2 separate regions of the Homo sapiens genome follow, and region 2 is linked to region 1. Evidence: promoter capture Hi-C in human tissues and cell types (Jung and others, 2019). All regions are on one chromosome and are shown on one strand. The core of a region is centred on a gene start or on the middle of the fragment in contact, and the rest is flanking DNA. Distances in the headings are between cores, read along the strand shown.

Evidence for each region. The method cuts DNA at HindIII sites, captures the fragments that hold promoters and counts their contacts. A contact is called where the count stands out against the background at its distance.
Region 2: a contact is called between a fragment that was not itself captured here and the fragment with the promoter of SETD1A in region 1, in 2 of the 25 tissues and cell types used here (lymphoblastoid cells and spleen).

What each region holds. Positions count from the first base shown.
Region 1 is chr16:30,955,457-30,960,513 of GRCh38, forward strand. It overlaps SETD1A (SET domain containing 1A, histone lysine methyltransferase), which reads left to right and starts at 2,298. Exons shown (of 19, transcript NM_014712.3): 1 at 2,298-2,508; 2 at 3,261-3,425; 3 at 3,635-3,730. The coding sequence starts at 3,276. RefSeq lists enhancers at 1,606-2,369, 1,827-1,956 and silencers at 2,557-2,776, 2,917-3,006. The HindIII fragment of the contact is 8,587 bases long and covers 1,381-5,057 here.
Region 2 is chr16:31,236,515-31,241,571 of GRCh38, forward strand. No RefSeq gene overlaps it. Among named protein-coding and RNA genes, the nearest start is that of ITGAM, 21 kb to the right of the region's middle. The HindIII fragment of the contact is 6,547 bases long and covers 1-5,057 here.

The DNA.
Region 1 (5,057 bases), core at 1,048-3,547:
CCACACCCAGCCCTCCCTGAGTGTTTAGTATAAGCACTCTTTTTTTTTTTTTTTTTTTGAGACCGAGTCTCGCTCTGTCTTGCACTGTCGCCCAGGCTGGAGTACAGTGGCATGATCTCGGCTCACTGCAAGCGCCGCCTCCTGGGTTCACGCCATTCTCCTGCCTCAGCCTCCCAAGTAGCTGGGATTACAGGTGCCCACCACCACGCTCGGCTAATTTTGTTTTTGTATTTTTAGTAGAGATGGGGTTTCACCGTGTTAGCCAGGATGGTCTTGATCTCCTGACCTAGTGATCCCCCTGCCTTGGCCTCCCAAAGTGCTGGGATTACAGGTGTGAGCCATCGCGCCCAGCCGAGACAGTCTCACTCTTTTGCCCAGGCTGGAGTGCAGCTGTGCAATCTTGGCTCACTGCAGCTTTGACCTCCCAGGCTCATGAGCCTCCCACCTCAGCCTCCCAAATAGCTGGCACCACAGGACGTCCCACCAACCCAGCTAATTAATTTTTTTTTTTTTTTGTAGAGAGGAGGGTCTCACTATGTTGTCCAGGCTGGTCTTGAACTCCTGGGCTCAAGTGATCCTCCCACCTTGGCCTCCCAAAGTGCTGAGATTACAAGTGTTAGCCACTGCACCTGGCCTCAAGTTTCTTTCTTGAGCAACTACCACATACTAGGGGACTTTCATAGGTTATCTTATTTAACTCTCACAACACCTTAAGCGTTAAGTCTTTATCATTTTCATTTCAGAGATAAGGAAACAGGCCCAAGAAGGCTGAAGATCTTGCCCAAAACCACACAGCTAGTCCATGAAACTGAACTTGGACTATCTACCCCTCACACGGGAATCTCTCTTTGATTTGAGAAAAGGAACCAGTGCCTTTCAACTGGAACAGAAAGGAATCTGATCTCAACACCTATGCCTCCACGTAAATTATTTTTTTCAGCCTTATTTCCCTCAAAATTGTAGAGTCCTAATCTTCTTCTATCTTGTGGTGTGAGACCTTGGATAAGTCTCCCTTCCACCTTTTCCTATTACTTAAAATGGTGAATTTGCATAAACCAGGCTCTAAGGGTCTTTTCTGCACTGTTCGGATGTGTACAAATTGACATCCAAGTTTAAAGGAAGACTCTGAAACTTAGGTCAATGACTTGCCCAAGGCCATATAGCGAGGGCCTGATGTACACATATCAGGAGCTTGGGGCATCCTCAGCTCAGGAAAAGGGACCTCCTGGGAGTGCCTGCGCCCACACGGGATCAAAACGGTGCCCAGCCTTCAGAAACCTCAGCCCGAGTTCCAGGGGTAGGCCTGGGCCGCTGCTGCCCTTGTGCGGAGGCATCCCGTGAGCATAGGGCGCCATAGCCAAAGAAGCGGGCAGTGGGACCATGACGCCAGGAGGACACACCAGTCCAGTCCCGTTCCTGTAGGACCTCGTTTATTATTACAAGGCCCATTTAAGGGCACTTAGGCCCCACTAGGCTCATCAGAAAACCTTGAGGCGGTCCCTGGATTTAACCACTAATGGTGGGTTTGAGTACGGCAAAGTAGGGCACCTTCTACAGGCCTCACTCTCCCCATCTGGCAAATGGGCATCCTAAGCAGCCAGACACCCAAGGGCAATAACGGGAAGGAAAGGTACCCTGCATTTATGTGCGAGGCGGGGCAAACCGCCTGAGTCACCGCTCACGGTTGTGTTTTTCCACCTCCCGGCCGTCCCTCCCATCCGGGTGAGTCCTCGTGGGTCCTCCCGGAGGCGCCCCCTAGTCCCAGGCTCTGCACGCCCTGGCCCCGCCCCTTGACTCGGCCCCGCCCACAGCGGAATCCGCAGATTCGCCAGGTCGGATCCTCAGAATTCCTCGGGTCCCTCGATACTCGGCTGAAAATTCTCATCGGACTCTGAGAGGAGCGCTGGGCTGGAGGCATTTTCCCCAGGGACAGAAGCGGGCTATTCTCTCACTTGGGCCAGTAAGAAAAATCCAAAAAAAGTTGTCGACTCTGCCAGCAGGGATTGGCTAACGGGCCGTTATTTTCTTGACTCCACCAAGGCGGATGAAGGGGAGGCTACGGCTGAGGCCGGGAACAGTGGCGAATCTGCAGCCTCTCAGAATTTGGCAGTGCAAGGAAGGGACGGGGAAGAGAAGCAAAGCGGCGCGCATCCTGTCCAGCGATTCGCCCCGCCCGCCCGGTGAATCTGCGTCTGCAGAACGCGCCACTGAAGGTTCCCCAGCGCTGGCTGGCCTCCTCCCCTCCGCCCCGCCCCTTTTCCTCAGGGACTAGTCGCAGCTTTCGTCGCCGCCGATTCGTCAAGGTCCCGGGCCGCAGCATCTAGATCGTCGTGGCGAAGCCGACTCTCCGGGGGATGCGGCCAATCTCCAAGCTCCCTGGGCCGCAACTTCCGAGCCTCCCAGGGCGCCGGCCGAGGCGAAGCCGCTACCCTCGGCCCCGTGGGTCCCCCGGCAGCGCCTGTGGCGAAAGTGCGAATGCAGACCCTGTGCCCGCTGGGCCTCGCGCAGGTGGCAGTGGTGTTTGGTGCGCGCGCCGGGGAGGTGGTGGTGGGGGGGCGCCGCCGCCGCCACCGCTGCGGGGCCGGGTCTCGCGCTGCCGCTGCCGCCGCCTCGCGCCGCTGAGGTGCCGCGCGAGGTGGGGGGAGGGGGAGCCGCTCGCCGGGAGCGGGTGAGTGGGGCCGCGCGGCGCGCGTGCGCGGAGACCTGCTGGGGGGGGTGCAGAACGCGCCGGGGCGGGAGGAGAGGGCAGCGGTGCACGTTCCCCCCACCCCCCCGCCCGGATTCGGGGTCGAAGCCGGGTCTCGGGCTCGGTCTCGCGGTGTTTCCAACGCCCCGAAGAGGTGCCACCTTTCGGCCGGAGGATCGGGGCGCGGGGAGGAGAGCGGGTGTGTGGGAGCCGTGGCCGGGCTCGGCCCGGGCCGCTGGCCGGTGAGGAGGCGGGAGGGGGCGGGGCCTGCAGGGGGCGGGGGAGGGGTCTTGCTCCGAGGCCAAGTGGGGCGCGCGCTAGGGAGAGCGGGAAGGTAAGGGGGCTCGAGACGGGCCTGGGGGCCTGACAGTAGAGTTGGGAGGTGGAAAGAGGCTGGGTTGTTGTGGCGAAACAGAGGGTACTTGGGGGAGAATCCGGGGGAGCCCCGGGTCAGGGTGAGGGTTGGAAACTGGAGTGATGGGAGAACCTGGAATCGGGGCTAGCCAATGAGGAAAGGCAGGGGAGTCAGGCCCCAAGTCCTGATCCTTCTTGCGTGTCCCTCTTCCCCTAACAGTGTAAATGAGCAAAGATGGATCAGGAAGGTGGGGGAGATGGGCAGAAGGCCCCGAGCTTCCAGTGGCGGAACTACAAGCTCATCGTGGATCCTGCCTTGGACCCTGCCCTGCGCAGGCCTTCTCAGAAGGTGTACCGCTATGATGGAGTCCACTTCAGTGTCAACGTGAGTGCCCGGGTCTTTGGTTGCCATCCGGGGAGCTCCAGGCGCCCGTCCTCTGTGATTCTGTTCAGCACCTAGAACGGTAGCCTGCCTTCTTGAAAGTGGGCAGTTGGACCCAGCTCTTCTGCATGTGTGTGTCCAGATGGGCTGCTTGGAGCTCCCTAGCCTGGATTCACCCTGAGCTCTCTTTCTGCTGCTGCTTTCCTTCCTAGGACTCAAAGTATATACCAGTCGAAGACCTCCAAGACCCCCGTTGCCATGTCAGGTCCAAAAACAGAGACTTTTCCCTCCCAGTCCCTAAGTTTAAGGTAAGTGTCTGCTGGGCTCCTGGTGTGGTAGTCCTAAGAGGGTGTGGAGGATGCGTCTTGGCACTATAGCTGAATAAAAGGGTTTCCAATGAAAGGATCTCAGCCAGATCTAGCAACCTCTGAGGCTGTGAGACTCAGTTGTTTTGGATAGGAGGTACACTTAATCTTCCAGAAAGGTGCAGGTCAGGTGTCCTAAGTGTATCCCTGGTGGCTGGGGTGTCGACTTCTTGAAGGGTGAGGTAAAGACTCTTTAGCTGCTATACCTATCACTGTATATTCGTAGACAGTGCATCATAGCACACAAGAGTGGGATCTCCCAGTTCCTTGACAGTCAAGGGGAGTGACAAGGCCACTGCCTACCTGGGTAGCACTATTCCCCGCCTCTCATTTGGCGATGTCATTTCCCTCTTGTTTCCTTCGAGGACTCCTATTCTCCACCCTAGACAAGATATTCTTCAGGCCTTGAACTGGGCCTGGAACACTGGTGGTTCTTCATTTCCTTCTCTGATTCTTTATTCTTCCTTTCTAAATAAATTGTTTGTGGGGTCCCTTCATTCTTCTTCTTCTTTTTTTTTTTTTTACTTTGTACACTTCACTTGGACAATCTCTTTCACACCCACAGCTTCAACTATTACCTAAATGTTGATGACTTCCAAGTATCTGTTTCCAGCCAACATCTCTAGGCTTGTATGCCTGGTAGGGGGACAGTTTCATTTGGAGGCCACACATGTTTCAGATTTAAGGGATTTAAAACAAATTATCTACCTCCTTAACCTACCTTTTTCATTTTCCCTCTACTCATATGTGGCAGTACCATCGACTCAGCTGTACAGCCTGGCAGCCTGTGATTCTCTCCTTTTCTCTCTCAGTTGGTCACCGAATCCTCCTGGCTCTTTTCTTTTTTATTCTTCATCTTTCTATTCTCATTGCCACTTAATGTAGACCTTGGTATTCATTTCACCTGGTCTCCTTGCCTTCGTTCTTGCCTCAGTTTCTCCTCTGCCTTGCTGTCATTTGTCTCTTTGGCTTCACTACGCTGCTGTTTTCCTTTTGTTGCCAAGTCCATGTTTTGGGACACTGACATGTATGGTTATTGACCTGGCCAAGCCTTATCCTCCGCCTTGACACCACACCCCTGTGTTACATCCACACCATAACGCTTTGCGGTTTTTCAAAAACACCAAGTTGTTTTATATTTCCATGTTCCAGGGGTCCTTGTCATTTGATGAATTGTTAATCCCCAAATCTCAGTAAGAATGACACCATCTTTATGAATTCTTCCCTGATCATACTCTGTACAAAAGTTTCCTTCCCTGGGCTCCAGAAC
Region 2 (5,057 bases), core at 1,487-3,986, 280 kb after region 1:
GCATCATTCTTCAGGGCCCTGGGATTTTCCAAATGGTAAATGACCACTGGCTACACCTTGAAGCCCTACCAGCTGCATTAGCCTCTAATAAGAGAGTCAGCCTGTCCTTTGAAGCTTTGAAGCCAGGCATTGACTTCTCTGAAAGTCCTAGATGCCATCTTCTTCCATCAAAGACCATCTCATCTACATTGAAAACCTGTTGTTGAGTGTAGCCACCTTCATCAGAGATCTTCTGGAGAACTTGCTGCGCCTTCTCCATCTGTACTTGCTGCTTCACCTTGTACTTTTATGTTGTGGAGATTGCTTCTTTCCTTAAACCTCATGAACCCTGCTGACTTCCACCTCTGCTGACTTCCAAATTTTCTTCCGCAGCTTCCTCACCTCTCTCAGCCTTCATAGGACTGAAGAGCATTTGGACCTTGCTCTGGATTTGGCTTCGGCTTAAGGGGATGTTGTGCTGGTTTGATCTTCTATCCAGATCACTCAAACTTCCTTCGTATCAGCAATTAGGCTGTTTCACTTTCTTATTATTCACGTTCACTGGAGTAGCACTTTTTTTTTTGAGACAAGATTTCTTTCTGTTGTCCAGGCTGGAGTGTAGTGGTGCAATCACGGCTCATTGCAGCCTGGACCTCCTGGGCTCAAATGATCCTCCCACCTCAGCCTCCTGAGTACTGGGACTGCAGGTGTGAACTACCATGCTGGCTAATTTTTAAATTTTTAAAATATTTTTTAGAGACAGGGTCTCGCTATGTTGTTTAGGCTGGTCTCAAACTCCTGGGCTCAAGTGATACTCCCACCTTGGCCTCCCAAAGTATTGAAATTATTAGCTGAGCCACTGTGCCAGGCCTTGGAGTAGCACTTTAAACTTCCTTCAATAACTTTTCCTTTGCATTCACTATTTGGCTAACTGGTGCAAAAGGCCTAGCCTTCAGCCTATCTCTCAGCCTTTTTTTTTTGAGACAGAGTCTTGGTCTGTCACCCAGGCTGGAGTGCAGTGGTATGATCTTGGCTCACTGCAACCTCCGCCTCCCGGGTTCGAGTGATACTCCTGCTTCAGCCTCCTGAGTAGCTGGGATTACAGGCGCCCACCACCACACCCTGCTAATTTTTGTATTTTTAGTAAAGAGAGGGTTTCACCATGTTGGCCAGGCTGGTCTTAAACTTCTGATCTCAGGTGATCCACCCGATTCGGCCTGCCAAAGTGCTACGATTACAGTCGTGAGCCACTGCGCCCAGCCTCTGTCTCAGCTTTTGAAACGCCTTCCTCGCTAAGCTTAATAATTTGATTTAACATGACGCTTCCTTTGATTTAACATGACCCTTCCTTTCACTTGAACACTTAGAGGACACTAGGGTTACTCATTGTACTAATTTCAATATTGTTGTGTCTAAGAGAATAAAGAGGCACAAGGACTGGGAGAGAGAGGGGAACCACTGACTGGTGGAGCAGTCAGAATGCACACATTTATCCATTATGTTCACCATCTTTTATGGTTGAGGTTTGTGGTACCCCAAAACAATTACAATAGTAACTTCAAAGATCACTGATCACAGATCACCATCACAGATAGAAGAATGATGAAAAGCTTGAAATATTGTGAGAATTACCAAAATCTGACAAAGAGAGGTGCAGTGAGCACGTGCTGTTGAAAAAATGGCACCAATAGATTTGCTTGACGCAGGGTTGCCACAGACCTTCAGTTTGCAGAAAATGCGGTATCCATGAAAAGCAATAAAGTGAACTACAATAAAACAACGCATGTCTGTACTTAATTATATCTTACAGATAAGGGGAAGGTTTCCTTTGACCACACCCCCAGTGCTGATTATTTCTTTTTCCTCCTCATCAGAAGTAATATTGTCAAGTTTAGTGAGTAGTTTTGTTTTATGTTTTGAGACAGAGTCTTGCTCTGTCACCCAGGCTGGAGTGCAGTGGTGTGATGTCAGCTCACTGCAACCTCTGCCTTCCAGGTTCAAGTGATTCTCCTGCCTCAGCCTCCCGCGTAGCTGGGACTACAGGCGCCCACCACCTCGCCCGGCTAATTTTTTGTATTTTTAGTAGAGATGGGGTTTCAGGATGGTCTCGATCTCCTGACCTCGTGATCAACCTGCCTCGGACTCCCAAAGTGCTGGGATTACAGGCGTGAGCCACCGCGCCCGGCCTATTTTTAAAATTTAATTAAAAAAAATTTTTTTGGCCAGGCATGATGAGTCATGCCTGTAATCCCAGCACTTTGGGAGGCCGAGGCAGGCGGATCACCCAAGGTGAGGATTTCGAGACCAGCCTGGTCAACATGGTGAAACCCCGTCTCTACTAAAAATACAATTAGCTGGGTGCAGTGGTGGGCACCTGTAATCCCAGCTACTCGGGAGGCTGAGGCAGGAGAATCACTTGAACCAGGAGACAGAGGCTGCAGTGAGCAGAGATTGTGTCACTGCACTCCAGCCTGGGTGACAGAGCAAGACTCTATCTCAAAAAAGAATTAGCCAGGCATGGTGGTTCATGCCTGTAGTCTCAGCTACTTGGGAGGCTGAGGTGGGAGGATAGCTTTGCACTTTGGGAGTCTCATTTTCAGATATGAAAAAAAAGCCCAGCACGGTTCCAAAGTTAATATCACATCCAATTTAAAGAGACCTGGTGAGGCGCGGTGGCTCACGCCTATAATACCAGCACTTTGGGAGGTCGAGGTGGGAGAAGCATTTGAGTCCAGGGGTTTGTGACCAGTCATAGTGAGACCCCATCTCTCCAGAAAAAAAAAAAAAGGCTGGATATGGTGATGCTCGCCTGGGGTCCCAGCTACTCAGGAGGCTGAGGCAGGAGGATTGCTTGAGTCCAGTAGTTGGAGGCTGCAGTGAGCTATGATTGGGCCACTACGTGTCAGCCTGGGCAATTAGAAGGAGACCCAGTATTTTTTTTTTTAATGTAAATATAAATAAGGTGACCTAAAGTGGTGAAGGAACCCTCCCCACTCCTCTCTGCTGGCTCCTTCAAGGTCAAGGTTAATCAGAGGAAAAGGGGCTGGGTGACACATGATTGGTGTGTCTATGATCTGTGACACCTGTCATGTGCTCTCCTGGGAGGTGTTGGCTTCTTCTGAGGTGGTATAGGCAGACGCTTTCTGGCTGGCCTCTTATGACAACCCCTCAGTCCTTCCTCCCTGCCCCTGCCCCAGGGGATTCCACTCCCGGCAGCCTCTCACTGCCCGTCCCTTTGCCAGGGTAGGCAGCTGTTTAGGGCAGGGGCCGCCACAACACTAGAGCCCGCTCATTTTGTTGGCATTCACCAGGCCTAGGGGTCTCATTTATTCTCACCTATCCAAAAGGACGTGCCCTCCTCTCTCTCCCTGTCTGGCCCCTTCGGGCTGCTCCGGACCTTCTCGTTCCTCCTCCAGAATCCTCTGGGTTGGATGACAGCACTGGTGGATGCCACACTCAGGGGCCTGCATCAGGTTCTCCTAAGAACCTCTTGTCAGCCTTCATCTGAGCCTTCCGGTTCCTGCAGCCCAGGAGAGCCGCCTCCAATCTCCACAAGGGCTTCTTCTTCTTCTTTTTTAATTGTTGTTGTATTGTTTGTTTGTTTGTTTTTGAGACAAGGTCTCTGTCACTCAGGCTGGAGTTCAGAGGTGCAATCACAGCTCACTGCAGCCTCCAACTCCTGGGCTCAAGCGATCCTCCCGCCTCAGCCTTCCAAGTAGCTGGGACTATAGGTGTGCGCCACCCTGCCTGGCTAATTTTCACTTTTTAATTTTAGTAGAAATGGGGTCTCAGTATGTTGCCCAGGCTGGTCAGGGCTTCTTTTGGAGCAACCTCCTCACTTGCTTTGAGGTGTGGGACGTCCCTGTGGGGGCAGGTGAGGAACCACCACAGCTGTCTCATTGAGGTGGGTGATGAGGGTGGAAATTAGCAAGATGGACCTGCTCTCTCACTAGGAATCCTAAAGGGTGTGTCTGCGGCTCGGTTTAGAATGTGGGGCTTTGTATTAATCAGTTTTGTCCTCAGCTTTGGGGCTGTAAACAAAAATTCTATCAATTTGCATTCCAAACAGCACCGTACGAGAATATAGTTTCTCCAAATCTTCTCCAGCACTCTTTTTTTTTTTTTTTTTGAGCCAGAATCTCATTCTGTCGCCCAGGCTGCCAGGCTGGAGTGCAGTGGTGCAATCTTGGCCCACTGCAACCTCCGACTCCTGGGTTCAAGGGATTTTCCTGTCTCAGCCTCCCGAGTAGCTGGGATTTCAGGCTAATTTTTGCCTGGCTAAAATTATCATGCCTGGCTAATTTTTGTAGTTTTAGTAGAGACAGGGTTTCACCATGTTGGCCATGCTGGAGCACTCAATATTATCAAGCTCAAATTCTTATTTCTTTTTGCCAACATGATGGGAAATAAATAAATAGTATCACATGGCTTTTTAAAAGTTTAATTTATATTTTTCTCATTGTATGCATTTATTGACCAGTTATAATTCCTCTTCTAAAAATGGTCTGTTCCTATGCCTTGGCTTTTTTTTTTTTTTGAAACGGAGTCTCGCTCTGTCACCCAGACTGGAGTGCAGTGGCACGATCTTGGGTCACGGCAACCTCTGCCTCCCAGGATCAAACAATTCTCCTACCTCAGCCTCTTGAGTAGCTGGGATTACAGGCGCGCACCACCACGCCCGGCTTTTTGTATTTTTAGTAGAGAAGGGGTTTCACCATGTTGGCCAAGCTGGTCACGAATTCCTGACCTCAAGTGACCCACCTTCCGCAGCCTCCTTAAGTGCTGGGATTACAGTCACGAGCCACCGTGCGCCCGGCTGCTTATTTTCCTTCATGAGTTATTGTGGTTCTTTATATATCTGCATACTTTTTTTTTTTTCTGCTACATACATGTGTGGCAAGTGTTTTCTCCTAATCTGACAGCTTGTCCTTCAACTCTGTTTATGGAGTTCTTCTCCTTGTGTTACAGAGGAAATGTTTGGACAGCTTTGGCTTAAGTGTCATCTGCACAGGGCATTTTTTTTGTGCCTTCACAGTGCCTGAGTGATGGCAACACACTCTCTTGGCACTGCAAGCTCC